Linked DNA regions of Homo sapiens: region 2 is linked to region 1. The links are contacts of gene promoters, found by promoter capture Hi-C in human tissues and cell types (Jung and others, 2019). All regions are on one chromosome and are shown on one strand. The core of a region is centred on a gene start or on the middle of the fragment in contact, and the rest is flanking DNA. Distances in the headings are between cores, read along the strand shown.

What was found. The method cuts DNA at HindIII sites, captures the fragments that hold promoters and counts their contacts. A contact is called where the count stands out against the background at its distance.
Region 2: a fragment that was not itself captured here is called in contact with the fragment with the promoter of RIOK2 in region 1 in 1 of the 25 tissues and cell types used here (dorsolateral prefrontal cortex).

What each region holds. Positions count from the first base shown.
Region 1 is chr5:97,178,608-97,184,496 of GRCh38, reverse strand. It overlaps RIOK2 (RIO kinase 2), which reads left to right and starts at 1,250. Exons shown (of 10, transcript NM_018343.3): 1 at 1,250-1,371; 2 at 5,304-5,442. The coding sequence starts at 1,306. The HindIII fragment of the contact is 15,072 bases long and covers 1-5,867 here.
Region 2 is chr5:98,754,080-98,760,075 of GRCh38, reverse strand. No RefSeq gene overlaps it. Among named protein-coding and RNA genes, the nearest start is that of RGMB-AS1, 16 kb to the left of the region's middle. The HindIII fragment of the contact is 6,037 bases long and covers 335-5,996 here.

The sequences.
Region 1 (5,889 bases), core at 1-2,500:
ATACTTGTAACAAAATTTCTCACGTACCCCATAAATTTGTACAAATAAAGTTAGTCACTTGGTTTTTTTAAAAACTTTTCGCCCAGGCGCGGTGGCTTATGCCTGTAATCCCAGCACTTTGGGAGACTGAGGGGGGCGGATCACCTGAGGCCAGGAGTTTGAAACCAGTCTGGTCAACAGGGCGAAACCCCATCTCTACTAAAAATAAAAATATTAGCAGGGCGTGGTGGTGTGAGCCTATAATCCCAGCTACTTAGGAGGCTGAGGGAGAAGAATCCCTTGAACCTAGAGGGCAGAGGTTGCAGTGAGCCAAGATCGCGCCCCTGTACTTCAGTCTGGGTGACAGAGCCGGGCTCTGTCTCAAAAATAAAAAAAAAATTCATTTCTATGCCTTCTTATGTAAGTACAGAAAGAAAAATTCCGTTTAAATGGAGATGTTCATTGGTTGAAGATGGTTAATCAAAGACATGCTGCATTCAAGTAAAAAGCAGACAAAGGCTTGAATATCGAGGAGTTGCAGAGCCAGTATGGGTAACTATTCTAAAATCCTTAAATCGCTCCTGGGCCCTCGAAGTCCTACCCGCGTAGGTCAGCCCGAACTATCAAAATCCCCACTTCCTCTGGAGGTAAGGACGTCCGCCGCGCTCTCCACGTGTCACCTTAAACTCCCACCCCAACCAGCGCAGGCGCACTTCGAAGCCTCCTAGACCAACCTAAGAGAAGTACTGAGCAAGCGCATGAGTTCCATTAACCACGCCCTCCGGAGCTGCCGGAGCAGGCGCAATTAGGAGTAGAGGGCGTGCTTGTGTGATTACAGTCCACTTTACCTTTAACAGATTTGGTTGTCTGGACTCTAGCTCAGGTTCTTTTACCCCTGTCTTGTTGGAAGTCACTTTGCCTAGAGTAGAAGTTGTTTGCGGGAAAAATTTGCTCCTCCCATTAAGTAACCACTTTGCTCTCTGAGGCGGAACGTGTCATTGAGGCAGCAAGTCCTGACAGATATGGAAAAAAAAAGGCACATTGTAGAGAATATCTACACTCCGCCAACTCAGTCACAACGCAAAAATTACACAAAAATAAAACGTTCACTTGTTACATACTATGTGTTTCATAAGACATACAAGTAGTTTTATTTTCCTATATCAATGAGAACAGCACTTCTAACTATTAACAAGGACCTATACTAAGACGCAGCGCGTGCGCGAGCCATCTGGCGCTGTAAAGCGCTTAGAGGCTGGAATAACGACCTGCCTTACGCTTTGCGGCTGTCGTCGGAGAGGCATCTGGGTTCGGACTGGGGCCGCCATGGGGAAAGTGAATGTGGCCAAGTTGCGTTACATGAGCCGAGATGACTTCAGGGTCTTGACCGCGGTAAGAAACCCGCCGTTCCTGTTCTCCCTTCCCCTTAACACTGTGTGACCTCTTCCTGTTCCTGCAAGTTTTCTGGGATCTGAGCAGGCACACTCTGGGACCCGGGACGTGGCAGAAGCTGGGAATGGAGAAGAGAGCATTCAGAAAGTCGGATTTTTAAAAAGGTTTTGTTTGGGAGCTTACCTTCCCCCAGATAGAGCAAAGGTCCCGTCTTCTAATAATTGTTTTCTTTTCTGCTGCTATTCGCTTTGCGCTGAAGAGAAACGCTTGCATCTCTGTGGCCTGGAAACTTCTCTGATCCTGAGCTTCCGACCAGCTGTGAAAGGTTTAAGCCCCCCCCCCCCCCCGAGATTTGATAATATTGACTTCCCTACTAACAGACTCAGTCGCATAGCAGTCTTTCTGATTCATTCAGTCAACACATATTTGTCGGTTTTTTAGTAGCAACATTAGGAGGTTCACTTGTTCAAACAGACAAGTGGAGAGAGAGACACAGATCATCAAGTAAACGAAAAATAGGATAATGGATAAATGCTATGAAAATGATAAAGGATAATGGCATAGAAAGTATATGTATCTGGTGGAGAGGAGGGGCACAAGTTATTGGCCTTTGGTAGACAATCAATAAATATTCACTAAATGAAAGAATGAATGGGGGAATAATAGGAGCTGTGTGAGAAAGAGACAGCCCAGTGAAGTCCTTGGAAAGAGTTGGAGGCAGAGGAAACAGCAGTAGTAAGTGCAAAGGCCTTGAGACAGAAAAGTCTTTGAAGAGAGGAAAGGCCAATGTAATGTGGCTGGAGCAAAGTGAGATGCACACTAATGGTTGGAGATGTAGCGGAAAAGGTGAGAAATTATGTACTACAGAGCCTTGGAGGTTTGGTAAAGAATGTGGGGGTAACCACTAAATGTTTTTAATCAGGGGAGTAACAAAATCTGATTTTATGGCCTCAGTCTTATGGCACAGAAATTAATATATAGATCAAGACATTTGTACATTTATTTAGGAGCCGTTATCTTTTGGTAAGGAGTGAACCCCATGATAAGGACTACCTATATTGTGTAATTATGTAATAGGATATGCGATGTGAGTCACACTGGTTCTTGCATTATGTTAAGGCTTCAAGTTTTGGATTTTTAAAATTAATCTTAAATAGCGCTTAAGTATTAAACTATCAAATGCAAAATCAGTGTGAAATTTGGAAGACAATGTTTACTTTGCCTCTCATGTAGATTCTTCTAATCAGCTGGACTTTCTCTATGAAAACCTACTATCACTTCGGAAAGATACCTTCCTTTCCTGCTTTCTCAGCACACTCATTCCTTAGTGTCTCTGACAGAAGTAGGGGTCAAAAGTAAGAGTGTTAGAGGACGGGGGAGGCAGAGACAAAGCATGGAAAATAAGTTAAATTTAAAAGTTAAGGTTTTGGTGAGACATCAAAATGATGCCAGATTTATCTTCCAAAACATTGGCGCTGCAATATTTAAATTATTTGTAAAGTTCACCAAGAAATGACTTAGTCATTAAATATGACATTCCGGTCTCAGTTGAATCTCACCAGTGTTGGTACCCTTTCTTGGGCCTCTCTTCCCTTTTACTTCTTTGGCTCCTCCTATATCAATAATCATTGTTTGACTAGCTGCCCTTAGCTTTCAATATGAACTTGCCCCAGAATTCTGCTCCCAAACATTCCTTTTCTTCCATTATCTCCTGCTCAGTGATAGCATCCACTTCACATCTTCAACTCTCACTTCTATAAAATAATTGACAATTTTTCCTTCTAATTATAACTTCATTCCTAAATATAGGCCCCTTTCCTATTTAATTTTCTCTCTTTCTTTTTTTTTTTTTTTTGAGACGGAGTCTTATTCTGTTGCCAGGCTGGAGTGCAGTGGCACAATCTCAGCTCACTGCAACCTTCACCTTCTGGGTTCAAGCGATTCTCCTGCCTCAGCCTCCCAAGTAGCTGGGACTATAGGCGCACACCACCACGCCCAGCTAATTTTTGTATTTTTAGTAGAGATGGGGTTTCACCATGTTGGCCAGAATGGTCTCGATCTCTTGACCTCGTGATCCACCCACCTTGGCCTCCCAAAGTGCTGGGATTACAGGTGTGAGCCACTGCACCTGGCCTCCAGTTTTCCTTTAAACATTTTTATTTGACTCTCAGTGCTCAAACCAAATTCAATTTTTTTCTACCCCCTTTCTCTTTTCCCAAGCTCTATAAAAAAAAAAAATAATAAAATCTTAAAACTTGCTTTTCCTCATCACTTCCAATTGTGGCTTTCCGTTCCCTTTACCCTTCCACATCTAATTGCCAAGCTCTCCCATAATACTTCCTAAAGATTTTTATTCCTTCCTTCCAGTACCACTACCACTTACCCTGTTCTGGTGGCTCTTTCCTCTGAGCTGGACTTCTGTCTTAGTTCTCCGGAGTACCCCCTCAGATTTTGCCATCTCTAAGCCAATTTGCATATTCCTGGTACATTAATGTCCTTAAAATAACCCTGTTCGTGTGTCTCCCACGCCTAAACATCTTCAAGAGCTTCCTGCTCTCATCAGGATAAAATATAAAAGTATTTGGTCTACATTTTAATGCCTTCTCTATCCTAGAAGTATCTTCCAGCCGCGTTTGCATGAATTCTATATGCTATCCCATCTGAGCTGCTACTGTACTCAGCTATTCTCTGTGGTCAGTACTTTCTTGCATATGTGCCATTTTCAAATCTTTTTCTTTCACTAATATCCCCTTGTCTGTTTTCTCTGTATGCCCACATCTTTTAAAAGTCAGTCTCTAGTTTTGCATCTTCCTTGGAACTGATCCCTCAGCTAGAAGTATTCTTATTCTGCCCTGAGCTACCTTTTTAAGCACTTATCACTTCTTAACTTCTAATAAACTTAGATGTATACCATTTTTTAAAATTTCCATCATGAGATAAAAATTTCTCAGAGGTAAAAAGCACATATATATATATATATATACATATATATATATATACATATACACATGCAGAAGAGCATGTAGGATAGAGATATATATATATGTGCTTTTTACCTCTGAGGAATAAATTTAAAAATATATATATAATATATATATTATATATATATTATATATATATAATATATATATATTTTATATATATATATTATATATATATATAAAATACTTTTAAGTTCTGGGGTACATGTGCAGAACGTGCAGGTTTGTTACATAGGTATACACATGCTATAGTGGTTTGCTGTACCCATCAACCCATCCCATCTACATTAGGTATTTCTCCTAATGCTATCCCTCCCCTAGCCCCCCACCCCCCGACAGGCCCCAGTGTGTGATGTTCCCCTTTCTGTGTCCACGTATTCTTACTGTTCAACTCCCACTTATGAGTGAGAAAATGTGGTGTTTGGTTTTCTGCTCTTGTGTTAGTTTTCTGAGAATGATGGTTTCCAGCTTCACCCATGTCCCTGCAAAAGGCATGAACTCATCCTTTTTTATGGCTGCATAGTATTCCATGGTGTATATGTGCCACATTTTCTTTATCCAGTCTATCATTCATATATATATATATATCCTCTACGATGCCTACATGTAGTACTTTCTCATTAAATACCTGCTTAATAAATATCTGGCATATCTGTAGTTTTTAAAGACAAATGTTTAGGTGTCATCAAGTATTTTAGCATTGACCAAATGTCATCAGTATGTCTAGCACTCACAGTTCCTACTCTTGAAATGGAAAGCCAATACAAATATCAATGATTAGATTTCAAATTGCAATTAAAAATATTTTCAAGAGACGGAAGTGATTATGTCTCAGAATTAGTTGGAGAACTGCATAGTCAGGAAAGCTTCAAGGAGAAGTTAATTTCGCAGGGTTTTGATAGACAAGGCTTTGTGTTGATTATGATTATATAATGATTCCTTTAATTTCAGGTTGAAATGGGCATGAAGAACCATGAAATTGTTCCCGGCAGTTTGATTGCTTCTATAGCCAGCCTTAAACATGGTGGCTGTAATAAAGTTTTAAGAGAATTAGTGAAACATAAACTCATAGCTTGGGAGCGTACCAAAAGTAAGTATTTTGAGGCACCATTTGTGATTTTTCAGGTAATTGGTTTCCACCAGAGCAAGTGTTCCAAAAGTCAAGAAGTAGAAGTTGCCAGACTAGTAAAGCATTAGACGAAGAACTGACAGAACACACTTCGGCCATATCCTATTAGTCAAAATAATCACAGGGCACACCCAGATCAAAGGAGGTGAAAAAAGAATAGTAGTAAGAACATGTAGGTACTGCAGAAGAGCATGTAGGTACTGCAGAAGAGCACGTAGAGTACTGCAGAAGAGCATGTAGAGTACTGCAGAAGAGCATGTAGAGTACTGCAGAAGAGCACGTAGGTACTGCAGAAGAGCACGTAGGTACTGCAGAAGAGCAGGTAGAGTACTGCAGAAGAGCAGGTAGAGTACTGCAGAAGAGCATGTAGAGTACAGAAGAGCACGTAGGTACTGCAGAAGAGCACAT
Region 2 (5,996 bases), core at 2,104-4,603, 1.6 Mb before region 1:
CCAATCAATTAGTTGTTTGGCTAATCAATCTTTCAACAGATGTTTAGTGAACTACCTACTATGTGTCAGACACTCTTTTAGGCACTAGGGATATAGCAATGAAACAGAAAAGAGGAACTGAGATATGCATTAATGAATAAAACATAAAAATCTTTCTCCCTCCTAGAGGAGGAGATAGGCAATAATCATAGACATGAGGATATTCTATAATATATTAAAAGGTGTAAAGTGCTTTGGGAAAAATAGGACATGATAATGGGATGCAGAATGCCAGTTTGTATGTGCAAGTTTTGAAAGGGTGGTTAGAATGGCCTTCACTGAGAAAGTGACATTTGAGCAAACACTTGAAAGAGGTGATAGAGTGATCCATGTAGCTATCTGAAAAAAGGGAATTTAAGTCAGAGGAAATAGCCAGTGCAAAGATTCTGTGGTGGAAGCATGCTTGGCTATTCAAGACAGAGAAAAGAGGCTAGTTTTGTCAGATTCAAGTGAGACTCGTAGGTGATGAGTTCAGAGAGGTCATGGAGAAACCACAACATAGAGAACTTCTAAGCCATTGTAAGAACTCTGACTGAAGTTGGTAACCTTTGGAGAATTTTGAGCAGATAAATGCCATGATCTGAATTTTAGTTCATTCATGTAATTTTGTTGAGAATATACTATAGCCAGGCAAAAGTGGAAGCTGAGAGGCCTGTGGGGTGGTTTTTAAAATAATCTGTGCAAGAGATGGTAATGGCTCAAACCATAGGGTTAGCAACGGAATTGGTTAGAAGTGATAGGATTCCGGATGTATTTTGAGGTTAAAACCAAAAGGATTCCTTCCTTGGTAGATTGGATGGGGATGCTTGAGAAAAAGAGGAGTCAAGAATGACTTCCAGGGTTTTGGCTTGAGCTGCCATCAAGATGGAATTGCCACTGGGCACTATGGCTTATACCTGTAATCCTAGCACTTTGGGAGGCCAAGGTGGAGCCAGAAGTTCAAGGCCAGCCTCTGCAACATGGTGAAACCCCATCTCTACAAAAAAAAAACCCACAAAAAACAAAAATTAGGTGGGCATGGTGGTGTGTACCTGTGTTCCTAGCTACTTGGGCAGCTGAGGTGGGAGGATCACCTGAGCCCAGGGAGGTTGAGCCTGCAGTGAGCTGTGACTGTGCCACTGCACTCCAGCCTGGGAGACAGAATAAGACCCTCTCTCAAAAAAAAAAAAAAAGAAAAAAAAGAAAAAAAATTGGATTTGCCATCAACTAAGAGTTGAAATAGGTTTTTCTAGACAAAATGCACCAGACAATTAAGGGGATGGTTTTATAAAGTCTGTTGTAATAGGGAGATAGTTCATTAACTAGGATGATCTCAAAGATAAGAAAAGAGGCCTTGCATGAAGGGCAGATAGGCAAGAATGTCACCAGGTTATCTTCTGAGAATGGTGAGAAGGAGTTGAGAGGGCTCTTAACTGAGTCATTAAGGAAGGTAGAGATGGGTTATCTTGGAATATTAAAGGGCGGGATGGTTCTTTGTGGTTCCCCATTTATTTGAACACAAGCGAGTGAGAGCACAGGGCTAAGATAAAGTTAAACATTGTCAGGGGAAAAGCACGAGTTTAATTTTGGACTTACTAAATTTAAGATTTGTTCAAACTCCTAGTGAGAATTTCTCCATTATTTCTTTGTGTTTGTTGCATCCATCCCTGAATTCTCACATTGCATGTAAAAATATGTCATTTGAATAACCAGTTTTTATTAAATTTCAGCAGACAGATGTAGGCAATGAATTATTTTCTTTTTATTATATAAATAGTTTCATTTTTAACAGCCTTCACAGTACTAAACGATCTATTTCAACAAAATTGGAGCCTTCACCTGCCACCAGATATCCTGTATCTCAGTGACAGGCTTCATGAATCATGAAAGACTGCAAGGCGCTTACCATGATTGACTTCATATTCACACCTATCTACATATATGATGTGTTCTCTCCCTTTTAGACACTTAGATGTACATTAAATTAGGAAAATTATACCTTTCTTTAGTAAATTCTCTTAAAGTTACATGAAAATATTTTTGATAACTACATACAATAAAATACATGGAATGGTGTGTTTAGTTATAACATTACAGGTTCTTGGTCTAGATTTCTCCCAAAGTCCTCTCAACACTCCTCATAGAATATCTCATATTTCATATGACATCCAGGAAAGCCAAAGTTTGATCAAAGTGGTCAGAGAAGTGATAAGAAATGTGGACCTTTAAGGGAAGAGGCTGGAAAAAAAGTAGACTGCAGATTATATGTATCTTGGAATGAGAAAAGATGAGAATATACAGGGTTTAGGTAGGAAAGAATGTGTTGAGAAGTTTAATTTAAGGCACAGAAGATAGAGTAAGAGTAATCCATATTCCAAGGACAAAAGGCACTTCTGAAAGGTAAAATATCATAAACAAGCTTTGTCTGCAAATTTGGGAACCTGAGTTAGAACATTCCCTTTATTTTGAGGGAAAGGATAACTTGGTCTTAAAATAATCTATATTTGGTGATCTCCTTCCTTTGGTTTTTCTGGAAAGAAAATTAAAAACAAAAATAAACAACAAACAAACAAAACACTCTTATTTGGGATCTACTCTAGCATTGCCTCTCTTCGACTTTAGAAAAGCATCATTTTAACTAAATTTGATTAATTAATGAAGGAAATGAGACCCAGAAACCAATGCAAACTCTGCACTAAATGTATTATCACACTTAATTCTCACAACAATTGTCCAATCCTAGATACCTTCATTTTCTATATTCTACAGATAAGGAAATTTAGAGAATTGAGGAAACTTACTAAATCATGACTTTATTTTTTTGTGCATGGTAAGAAGTTGAAGAGGTAGGATATATATTAGTCAGTTTTCACAATGCTGATAAAAACATACCCAAGACTGGGCAATTCACAAAAGAAAGAGGTTTATTGGACTTACAGTTCCACATGGTTGGGGAGGCCTCACAGTCATGGCAGAAGGCAAGGAGGAGCAAGTCACATCTTACATGGATGGTAGCAGGCAAAGAGAGAGAGCTTGTGCAGAGAAACTACTGCTTTTAAAACCATCAGCTCTTGTGAGACCCATTCACTATCACGAGAACAGTACAGGAAAGACCCGCCCCCATGATTGAGTCAATCATCTCCCACCAGGTCCCTCCCACAACATGTGGCAATTATGGGAGCTACAAAATGAGATTTGGGTGGGGTCACAGAGCCAAACCATATTAGATGCAAACCCATACGTATAGCTCTAAAAAGTCTTTTAACCATTACACTTACTACTACTTTCTATTTATGTATTACTCAAGAGTTCTATAATTTCCCCTTTGCTGCCTTTTCTTTTTCTGGACTATTAACTTTCTTTCTTTTCTTTTTTTTTTGAGATGGAGTCTCGCTCTGTCGCCCAGGCTGGGGTGCAATGGCGTGATCTCGGCTCACTGCCAGCTCCGCCTCCCAGGTTCACGCCATTCTCCTGCCTCAGCCTCCCGAGTAGCTGGGACCACAGGCACCTGCCACCATGCCCGGCTAATTTTTTGTATTTTTAGTAGAGACGGGGTTTCACCGTGTTAGTCAGGATGGTCTTGATCTCCTGACCTCGTGATCTGTCCGCCTCGGCCTCCCAAAGTGCTGGGATTACAGGCGTGAGCCACCGCACCCAGCCTAACTTTCTATAACTTTTGCCATGAAGGTATTTCTTTCTTAACCTTTTATTAATTCCTCTATTCTCTTCTGAATGATGTAATTGGACTATCTGTTATTACATAATTCTGCCACAATGAACTTCAAATTTCACTTGTCCTAAAGCAAAGTGATGCAAATGAAATTCACTCAATGTATTAAATACTATTTTAAATGAAGAATAAAATATAGCATTTTTGTGTTAGTGACACATTATTGATACTTTCCGTTTTTCTCATACTTTTCAGTGTTTTGTTCTTGTTAGTGTTTTGTAGTACTCACCATTTTCTGTGTAAACCACTTCACATTTTTCCTTTATTGAATGTTGCATTTTATCGTTTTTCACCCATTTCTCAAACTTTTCATGCTTATATTCGACTTTAATCTTAATTTTCTAAAACACTGTAATTCTAACCATTTATAAGTTTGATTAGTATTAACATCTCCACTCAAAGCTGTTAATAAAAATGTTGAATGATACTGGGTTCTAAAGGACCTCTGTGGAACTCTAAGTAGCATTTTCTCCCAGTCAGGATACCTTACATTTATAATTACTTTTGGGGTTTGATTTTTTTCAGGGGGGCCAAATGCCATGTTCTTTTATAGCAATGTCATTCTAACCAATAATTTAATTTTAGTTTCTTCCATCTCTAGGATCTTAGTCATAGACGAAATTGTGTATACTTAGTATTGGCTTTCATAAGAATTTCTATGTAAAGCTATTTTGGCTGCAAGTCCTGTTAGTCATTTTGCCTTCTCAGCTGCCAAAATTCTAATTGTCCCCAAGGGCTGCCCGCAAATACAAACTCACTTAAAAACAAACAAACAGATCGCATGCACCTGCAATACTCATAACCTAGTGACTTTGGGAATGCATTTCCAGCTATGACTCCTGCTGCTGGTCAATACTGGGTAATCCCAGTGAGTCAATAAAGAAATAATGAAGCCATGTATCTTGAACTCATTGCCCAAAATTTACCTTTCTAACATTTATCTCATGGAATCTGAGTCTCAGAATGTTCCTTGGTTTTTCTGTACTGTTTTTGCAAGGCACTCTCTGTTAACTCAATGATTTTCTTAAACTATCAAGATGGATTTCAAGCGGGATGTCAATCAAATCCCATTTTCTGATGTGAAACTTCTAGTATCTGTTTGGGTTTCTGCCAGAATAGATTTACTCTAGGTAAGTCTTCAAGCCAAAACTTTGGTTTCTATTTTCTTAAAAATAACAATAAAATACAGCTCAAAGGGACTTTTTTTGGTTATCCTTCAGAGTACATTTCTAATTGAGAGGGTTTTAAAAACTAATTTGACATTTTAAATTAAATAGGAGAAAAAAATCCTGTTATGTTGTCTCAGTATATCTTCTATTATTGTCCCTTTTTTTCTGGGAATAATAAGTGATTGATAGAACACTTGGAGCTTTCTAATCCTGCACTCTCTCATCTGATTTGACAAGTTTGCTGCTACCATTGTCATACCACAATTTAGAGCTATAAGATTCTATGCTATTTTGAGGTGAATTGTATCATAATTGTTTTAGGGTTTTTAAAAAAGGTTTTGATTATATCATAACCATATGAATTCTTAACTGATGCACAGAAAATTGCTAAGTGTGGTAGTTTTAAAAATATCTACTTTATAGATATTTTATCACATATTATTTTGAAGTCCTAGACATGAACAGAAACTTATTTATTGAGTAAATAAACATTTATATAGGGAAAATAGAGATGCCCTGGTTCATTACTTAAAACACATTTTATTAATAGAACAATTTAAATAATTGTCCTACCATAATACAAAGAAAACAATAAGTGATGTCACCTTGGAAATATATATAACAGATGAAGTATAATATATATGTCACTTTCCTGGTATGCAAATCAGCCTGAGGGAAAAATATTCTTCAGAAAAAAAAATGCTTCCTGAGAAACACTTGATGTTGGAAGAACAATTCACTTTATTTTCTATTTGTGGCACTCAACTCTCCACACTTTGGAGGCATATATTTTTATTAGTTTGCATTATGCAGCATGTTCACAAGAAAGAGACACAAAGATGCATTGGAACAAAGCAAACAAGAAATCAGAGAGGCAGACACACAATGAAAACATAATGCAGAACATTAAAGTTTTTGTTAAATGGGAAAACTGTTTGCACACTACAGCTAAAATCTATGAGAAAGAGACAATTCAAAATTTAGCCTAAGCTGCTTTTAGTGATAAGACATATCAGGGGAAGCTTCAGTGTTTCAGATACATTTCCCTTTCCTCATCCAAAGCACATTTGCTGGCCTAT